Regions from separate parts of the Homo sapiens genome. Here regions 1 and 2 are each linked to region 3. Evidence: promoter capture Hi-C in human tissues and cell types (Jung and others, 2019). All regions are on one chromosome and are shown on one strand. Each heading gives the region's core, a stretch centred on a gene start or on the middle of the fragment in contact. The rest is flanking DNA. Distances are from core to core; before and after follow the strand shown. Region 1 holds the start of SIGLEC14 (sialic acid binding Ig like lectin 14). Region 2 holds the start of HAS1 (hyaluronan synthase 1). Region 3 overlaps SPACA6-AS1 (SPACA6 antisense RNA 1).

Region 1 (2,700 bases), core at 201-2,700, 39 kb before region 3:
CCAGGGGCTGAGGGGTGAGGGAGGGTCTCCTCTCCCAATGCTGAACCCTGAGCTAATAGAAGGCTCCCATCACAGCCCCAGAGGGAAGAGGGTCTTTCCTACCTGTGCCTGTGCCATTTCTGAAGAAGATGCTGATGGCGAGGTTCTGTGGAGCATCTGGGATAGAAAGATACAGCACCAGCTTCAGAGGTGACAAGAGGGATGGGCGTGGTCCCGGGAGGGACCCAAGGAGGGGCCACAGAAACCCACCAGGTGGGGACCGCTGTCCTTCCTGCCCACACACGAGTTTTCCCTGGTTATCATTCTCTTTCTCTCTCTCTCTTCTACACACACACACACACACACACACACACCCCCCTCACTCCCACTGCCCTTGGGGACTCAGCTGTGTCCCCAGCACCACTCACAGGAGACATTGAGCTGGACAGTTCTCTCCGTGGTCACCTGAGCTCCTTGGCGTTTCACCTGACAGGTGAGGTTGGTGCCATGGTCCTCGGGCCTGGGGGTGAGGGTGAGCTCCGAGGAGCGGGTGGTCTCGGGGTCCAGGGGGCTGAGGGCATTCCCCGTCCAGGAGAATGTGAGAGGTGGTCCCGCTTCACAGGATCCTGGAAGGCTGCAGCTCAGCCTTGTGGGGCGGCCGGACTCCAGAGGCTCCAGAAAGTGGATGTCGGGTTTCTCTATCAGGGCTGAGGAGGAGACAGGGAGATACCTGGGCCCCAGGGGCTTGAGGACGTAAGGTGTGACCCCGAGAGTGGCCAGGCCTCAGGCCCCGACCTGCCCCAAGTCCTACACCTCCTCCAGCCGCCCCTGCCCAACTCCTGTCCCTGTTCTCATACGGGGGTCTCCACGTCCCAGGGTCCTCTCCTAGGGTTCCTGCCATACCTGTCACCTCCAAGTTCAGCTTATTCTGTTGGTAGCTATATTTTACATCCCTTCCTCTCTCCACGCGGAAGAAATAGCTTCCCGTGTCCTCCATTCTGGCATCTCCGATGCTCAGGGAGCAGTTCTTCTTCTGGACATCCCCAAGGAGGCGGAATCGGCCCTGGGTCTCTGGCTTCACTCTTCTGTCTGGGTTGTTTGTGGCCACAACCTCAGCGTAGTATGGGATCTCCCCGTCCCGGAACCAGTAGACGTAGAGTGGGGGAGAGGAATACCAGGATCTCCAGGGGTAAGAGAAGGAGCAGGGCACAAGGACGCACAGGCCCTCCTGCACCGTCACCGACTTCTGCACTTGCAGCTCGTACACTGGCTTCTCCTGCAGGGACCCTGGGGGGACACAGAAGCTCAGCTGCAGCTCCAGCCCCCCTTCTCACCCCTGTGCCTGTCCCTCCTCCCTCAGCTCACTCACCCCCCCACAGCAGGGGCAGCAGCAGCAGGGGCAGCATGTCTCCATCCGCCAGGGCCCCAGCCCAGTCCCAGGTCCGGCTGTCAGGGAAGGAAATGCTCCAAATGTCCAAACGTGGGGTGGGGCTGAGAAAGCCCCGACAGGAAGCCGGAGGGTGAGTGAGAGCTGTGGACGCGCACAGAAGGGGAACTTGGGCATCACGTGCTGTTGGGGTGAGGCTGGGGCTGGGAAGCCATTCTGCTCCCACCCCCACTGGACGCCGATGGTGAAGATACTGAGGCCCCCAGAGGGGCTTGTCCAGACTTGTAAGTCTAGACTCCTGAGGTCACCAGGTCCCATAGCTGCAGCACTTTCCTTATGCACCTTTGTCTACATAGGAAGGAGAACACCACTTGGCCAGCTCCCTGGGAGTCAGGGCCTCGGGACCCTCAGCGAGATGGGAGAATAAATCCTTTATGACATGATAGGAGCTGTGGTGAGGGAAGCACACGCTGGGGGTTTCAGGTGGGGAAGACTTTCCTCTTTCCAGAGGGAAGGCAAGTTGTCAGGGACAAACACATCAGGTGGACATGACCGGGTCCTTAGCAGTCAAGAGAGATGTGGTCCCCACCACCAGTTGGATTTGGGAACCTCATCTCATCCTTGTCCTTGTCCCAGGCAGCGTCAGACCCCATCCCTGATGTTGACAGCCAGATGAGGCTTGAGAGCCGGGCATTTGAAATGTGAACGTTGAGGATATGGAATACCAAGTGTGAACCCAGACCCCTCACCTACCGGCTGTTGAACTTTACAAAAGTTACCTACCCTCTCTGTGCCTCAGTTTGCTCAGCTGAAAAATGCAGACAATAATAGAATTGCTGTGTGGGGATTCAGTGAGGTCTCATGTGTAAAGTGCTTAGGACAGTGTCTGGCCCCGAGAATTCACTCATTCAACTGATGCTTCATGGGCGCCTATGGTGCACCAGGCCCCCTGTTTTAGGAGCTGGAGATACAGCAAAGGATAAACTCTTAGGATGAGAAGGTAAGTCAAAAATCCTAGTGGGGGCTCCTCTGGGCACACTGCTTATGCATACCCCTGCTCCACGAAGAACAGTAAAAAAAGAAGGCCGGGCGCAGTGGCTCACGCCTGTAATCCCAGCACTTTGGGAGACCGAGGCGGGTGGATCACGAGGTCAGGAGATCAAGACCGTCCTGGCTAACATGGTGAAACCCCGTCTCTACTAAAAATACAAAAAATTAGCCGGGCGTGGTGGCGGGCGCCTGTAGTCCCAGCTACTGGGGGGGCTGAGGCAGGAGGACGGCGTAACCCGGGAGGTGGAGCTTGCAGTGAGCCGAGATCGCACCACTGCACTCCA
Region 2 (2,700 bases), core at 25-2,524, 38 kb after region 3:
TCTACATTTACCACATCGAAGTTGAGTACTTTCAAAAGAGACCAGATGGCCCCCAAAAGCCTCAAATATTTAATATTGGGCCCTTTATTTAAAAAAATGTGCTGGCCCCTGACACACTGGGTTAAATAAAAATATATTATTAAAATTAATTTCACCTGTTTGTTTTTACTTTTTCAAATGTGGCCACAAGAAAATTTTAAATTAGATATTGTGGTTTTCGTTACATTTCTAGAGGACAAAACTGAGGTACAGCTTTTAAACTCTCAACATTAAACATTATTCTTTCTTCTCGAATCCCCCTTCTCTCTTCCTTTGCTTCAAACCTGGCCTTGCCTGAGTTCCTAGGGATGGCTCAATTCATGCTGGGGATCCAGAGAGTTGATTCCAGAAACACAGATGAACACACGTGTAGACACACTCCCCCACACGTGAACTCACACATGATGAGTGACACACAGAATGAAATTACTCGTGTTCTACAGGATGACCCGAGACACCCACTCAGGCCAAACACAGCGATCCCGTGACCCCCACCGACGGCCACACAGGTGAACCTGCAGACACACACCCCTCAGCAGGAAAAAGCAACACCAGCAAAGGATGTCCACGTGGCCACAAACACACAGAGCCCCAACTGAGAGTCTGGGGCAATGGGATGCACAGGGAAGATTTCAAGAGAAATAGTAGGTGACTGTCAAGCTGATACTGAACCAGATGAAATTGCTATTCTTCCAAGTTTAGAGTGGCTCAGTATCGGCGATTTCATTTGGTTCAACTTAATAGCTATTGAACGCATGAAACAGAAATCCATTCCCATGTGCCACAGGCAAATCCAACTCTCTTTCTCACTCAGTCTCTTTCATTCGCTCACTGTCGCACTCCCTCTTTCTCTCTGCCTCCCAGGGAACATAGACATACACAAGTTTGTAGCAAGATACGCAGATACAGAAATACGGACATGGCACGTCTCACCTACATGTACTTGGGATGGCCGCTCACACAGGGCAATGTATACACAGACCTGCACACTCAGCCTCACATGCTCACTGTCCCCTACACACATATGGTCACTGTCAGGCACATGGATACACACATGAAATCATGCACACACAGTTCCCCAACACACGTGGTCACACATATGGCAGTAGTTTTCCCCACATGGCTGTATACACACACACACACACACACACACACACACACACACACACCTGTCTCATCGCAGTGGGTCTGGCCGGGCTCTCTCTTCTCTCCGGCTTGCTCTCCCAGCCTCTCTGTGGCCAGAGAGCTGGAGGGGGGTCATTTGAAGACCAGCGCAGGCGGGGGCGGGAGCGAGCGCTGACGTCAGTCAGGCTAAGCTGGGCCAGGGGCTCTGAGGTCACGGCCCAGCCGGGCAGCTCCACCCGCTTCCCGCTATTACTCCCACCCCCCTCAGCCAGACGGGCCTCCCTTCCCAGGCCCCCATGTCTACCCGCGCCCCTCCTCTAGTCCTCTCTGCCATCACTCCCCCTCCTCTCCCTCCCTCCTCTATGTCTTCTTCTCTCTTCCTCCCCCCTCTCGTCCCTTGTCTCCCCTGATTTTTCTCTTCCACCTCACTTGCATTTTGGGGGTTCCCCTCATCCCCCCATCCCCTATCCCTGTATTTCCCTCCATCCCTTTCTTTCTCCCTAACCCACTATTTCTCCTCATCTCTTTGTTGGTACCCTCATCTCTCTCCCCATTACCACATTTCTCCAAGTTTCTGTCTTTCTCTCCATCCCTTTCTTCCTCTCCACTTCTCTTGCCTCCTCTCACCCTCATTTCTTTCTCTTCTTGCTTTAAAGCTCTCCCCACCTCCCCCTTCTCACCTTCCCCAGTCACCCCCGCCCTGCTTCTCCCCACAGCCGCCTCTCCTGTCCCCAGAATCCATCTCTGGGTTGGGCCCCCCAGGGACATGTCTCAGCAACTGGCAGATGGAACGAAACTCACACACGTGCGTGCTGTGGGTGTGCCTGTGTGTACGCTGGCCCGAGGCACGGCTGCCTGGAACCGGAGCTGTGAGTGAACATCTGTCCATTCAGCGCCTAACTGACGTGGGTCTGCGTGTGTGCACCAGGGTCTGGGGTGGAGAGCTGGGGCGCTGGGATTTGTATCCCCAGGGACTCAGGGATGAACACAGAGAGTTGTCGGTCAGCTGACCCTGGGGAGCCAGCCGGGGTCTGTCAGTGCTGTCACCCATCAGGGAAACTGAGTCAGAGGAAGGGTGAAAAGAGATGCGGGACCTGGGGTGCCCGAACCCCAGCCCCTCAGGACCAGATCTGTGATAAATGTCTGTTTACATGCCCTTCTTTCCATGAATTTTTTAAAAAAACTATCTGTATCTAATTCTGTTCTTCTCTCTGCTCCTCTTACTGTGAACTATTGATGTCTCACTTTCGGCCTTGGTAGCTGCCTCGGTAGCTGCCTCGTTCTTTTCTCCCTGCCTGTGACTCCAACGACCTTTGGTGTCTGGCACGGGCCAGCTCCAGGACAGGCTGAAAGACATGGAGCAGCAGAGAGAAATTCCCCCGTGCTTCTCTCTCCTCGTCTGTCCCTCCCCAAATCTCTGTCATTTTGTATCTGTCACCCCATCTCTGTTTCTCGGTCCCTCTATTTGGGTCTCTGCCTCTGTGTATTCCTGTCTGTTTCTCCTCCTCATCCCCCCTCACAGCCATTCTCTCTCTG
Region 3 (2,700 bases), core at 76-2,575:
CACATGGAAGGATTGTCTGGTGGTGCTATCGGATTATCTTGGTTTTAGGGTTGATCCCTCACATGGAAGGATTCTCTGCTACTTTGATGTTCCTCATGACCCGGTGCCGCCTGTTCTATAGTATCAACGTGTAAGTCCTTGACTCAGACCTAATTCAAGGTAGGTTAAGGTGTCCTCCTGTCTACCAGTTCCTGTTTCAGGAACTTGGGATGACCTTGTGAAGGGTAGGAAGTTTCTATTTTCCTTTGAAGTGCTGTTCCAAGAGGTAATAATAGTGGAACTTGAGTTTCAGCAGTTGATGAGAATGGTGGCCCCTGTGTCTAAGAAGTATGAGAATTACAATATTGGGTAGCAGAGACTGATAAAGATGGTGATATAGGTTGAGCATCCCTTATCCAAAATACTTGAGACAGAAAGTGTTTCAGGTTTGATTTTTTTATTTTGTATTTTGGACTATTTTCATATATATAAAATCAGATATTTGGGGATGAGACCCAAGTCCAAACACAAAATTCATTTGTTTTCATTTCATTTATATATGCCTTCTACACATAGCCTGAAGATAATTTTATACAATATTTTTGTGCATGAAACAAGGTTTTTTGTTTGTTTTAAGACAGGGTCTCACTCTATCAACCAGGCTGGAGTGCAGCCTCAACTTCCTGGGCTTAAGCAATCCTCCCACCTCAGCCTCCCTAGTAGCTGGGAGAAGAAGCATGCATCACCATGCCCTGCTAAGTTTTAAATTTTTTTATTGTAGAGATGGGAATCCCACTATGTTGCCCAGGCTGGTCTCAAATTCCTGGGCTCAAGTGATCCTCCTGCCTTAGCCTCCCAAACAGCTGGATTACAGGCATAAGCCACTGTGCCCAGCCCCATGAAACAAAGTTTTGACTGCAATCTATCACATGAGATCAAGTGATGGAATGAAATTTTTCACTTCTGACGTTACGTCGGTGCTCAAAAAGTTTTTGATTTTGGAGCATTTCAGATTCGAGATTTTTGCATTAAGGATGCTCAACCTGTACTTGTGTGCCAATGTCTGATGGGAATGGTGGCCCCCTGTTTCAGGGAGTGAAGGCAATGATGGATCCTGAGTTCTGGATATTTGTAGGAATTGCAGTAGATGAGTCTTATGTGCTGAGAGATTTGGAGCCCTGTATTTCAGAGAATGAAGGAACCAGTGGTCCCTGTGACTTGCTAACTGATGAGAACAGAACAGAGGCCTTATGTTTCAGAAACTAATGGGAATTATGGTCACTGTTCCTGGGGGGCTTAAGCAAGTCCCAGCCTAATCCACAAGTCATTTATTATTCACTCATCTCCTCATTCATTCACTTAGCAAACATTTTCCTGAGCCCCTGCTCTGAGCCATGCCTGGGTGGAGTGATATTGAGGACACAGAAATGACTCAGACCCAGACTGTGCCCTCAGTAAATTCCCAAAGACAGACCCAGACGTAGAAAATCACAACACAACAGGATCAGGGCCAGGACAAGGACTGTGATGTGGTGCCTGTCCTGATCTGTCTACAGGGCATCCAGGGTGAATGTAGAATGACAGTAACTCTAGATCGTAAGTGAAAGTGAGGGGTCTGACAAAGGGTCCTTCTTAATCATACATGAATTTGTGTGCATGACAAGTTTAAATGTACCCAGTGTCAATCCTTAGAAATAGCATATTTTCCCAGAGCAAGCCCACCCCAAAGAAGGAGCCAGAGAGGCCTGGGTTTGAATCTCTAGCTCCATCACATACTTTGTGAGCTTGGGCAACTCGCTATTCAGAACTGCATCCTATTCAGTATTCCATCCTTACAATTGGGATAATAATAGTTTCTAATAATAAGGTTTCTGTGTAATCAATGATATAATGTATAACAAATACTCATCCCAGGAACTGGCTCCAAGTAGTCATTCAATAAAGGGTATCTGTTGTCATTATTATTATCCCATTGTTAGTAATTATCAACAAATTTTAAAGGATCTAGAAGTAAGCATTTATCGAATATCTGGGTTTAGAGGCTTAAAAGCATTGGACAAAATCACTTTAAAAATCAGCAAATTTGGGCCAGGTGTGGTGGCTCAGCCAAGGTGGGAGGATCACTTGAGGTCAGAAGTTCAAGACCAGTCCAGCAAACGTGGCAAAACCCCATCTCTACAGAATACACAAAAATTAGCCGGGCCTGGTGGCGCAGGCCTGTAGTTCCAACCACGTGGGAGGCTGAGGTGGGAGAATGGCTTGAACCTGGAAGGCAGAGGTTGCAGTGATCTGAGATAATGCCACTGCACTCCAGCCTGGGCAATCCGTCTCAAAAATAAATACATACATACATACATACATACATACATACATACATACATACATAAGCAAATCTGTAAATATCAATATGCATAACCATTAGTTTCTTGACATAAAAAACCTCCCAATCTCCCAATTAACTGAATACACTAGGAATAAATAGATGAATACAATGGAATATTATATCACTATTAAAATGAATGAGGAGGTTCTATAAGCCTAGATATGGGAGGATCTTTGGATATCATGTAAAAAAAAAAAAAAAAACCAAGGTGCAGAATAATGTGATCCTATCAGGGGACAGAAAAGAGGAGGGTGGTATATATGTGCATAGATGTATAAAATTCCTCTGGAAAGATACATAAGAAATTAGTGAATATATGCTGTCCCCAGAGAGGAGAA

The links. Contacts are between HindIII fragments. The study calls those that stand out against the background at their distance.
Region 1: a contact is called between the fragment with the promoter of SIGLEC14 here and a fragment that was not itself captured in region 3, in 1 of the 25 tissues and cell types used here (pancreas).
Region 2: the fragment with the promoter of HAS1 here is called in contact with a fragment that was not itself captured in region 3 in 1 of the 25 tissues and cell types used here (stomach).

What each region holds. Positions count from the first base shown.
Region 1 is chr19:51,645,375-51,648,074 of GRCh38, forward strand. SIGLEC14 (sialic acid binding Ig like lectin 14) reads right to left here and starts at 1,451. Exons shown (of 7, transcript NM_001098612.3): 1 at 1,349-1,451; 2 at 883-1,266; 3 at 408-686; 4 at 103-156. The coding sequence starts at 1,385. The HindIII fragment of the contact is 12,517 bases long and covers 1-2,700 here.
Region 2 is chr19:51,722,717-51,725,416 of GRCh38, forward strand. HAS1 (hyaluronan synthase 1) reads right to left here and starts at 1,275. Exons shown (of 5, transcript NM_001297436.2): 1 at 1,209-1,275. The coding sequence starts at 1,217. The HindIII fragment of the contact is 37,877 bases long and covers 1-2,700 here.
Region 3 is chr19:51,684,941-51,687,640 of GRCh38, forward strand. It overlaps SPACA6-AS1 (SPACA6 antisense RNA 1), which reads right to left. Exons shown (of 2, transcript NR_108100.1): 2 at 423-2,700. It also overlaps a transcript of SPACA6 not described here. Among named protein-coding and RNA genes, the nearest start is that of MIR99B, 6.3 kb to the right of the region's middle. The HindIII fragment of the contact is 5,980 bases long and covers 1-2,700 here.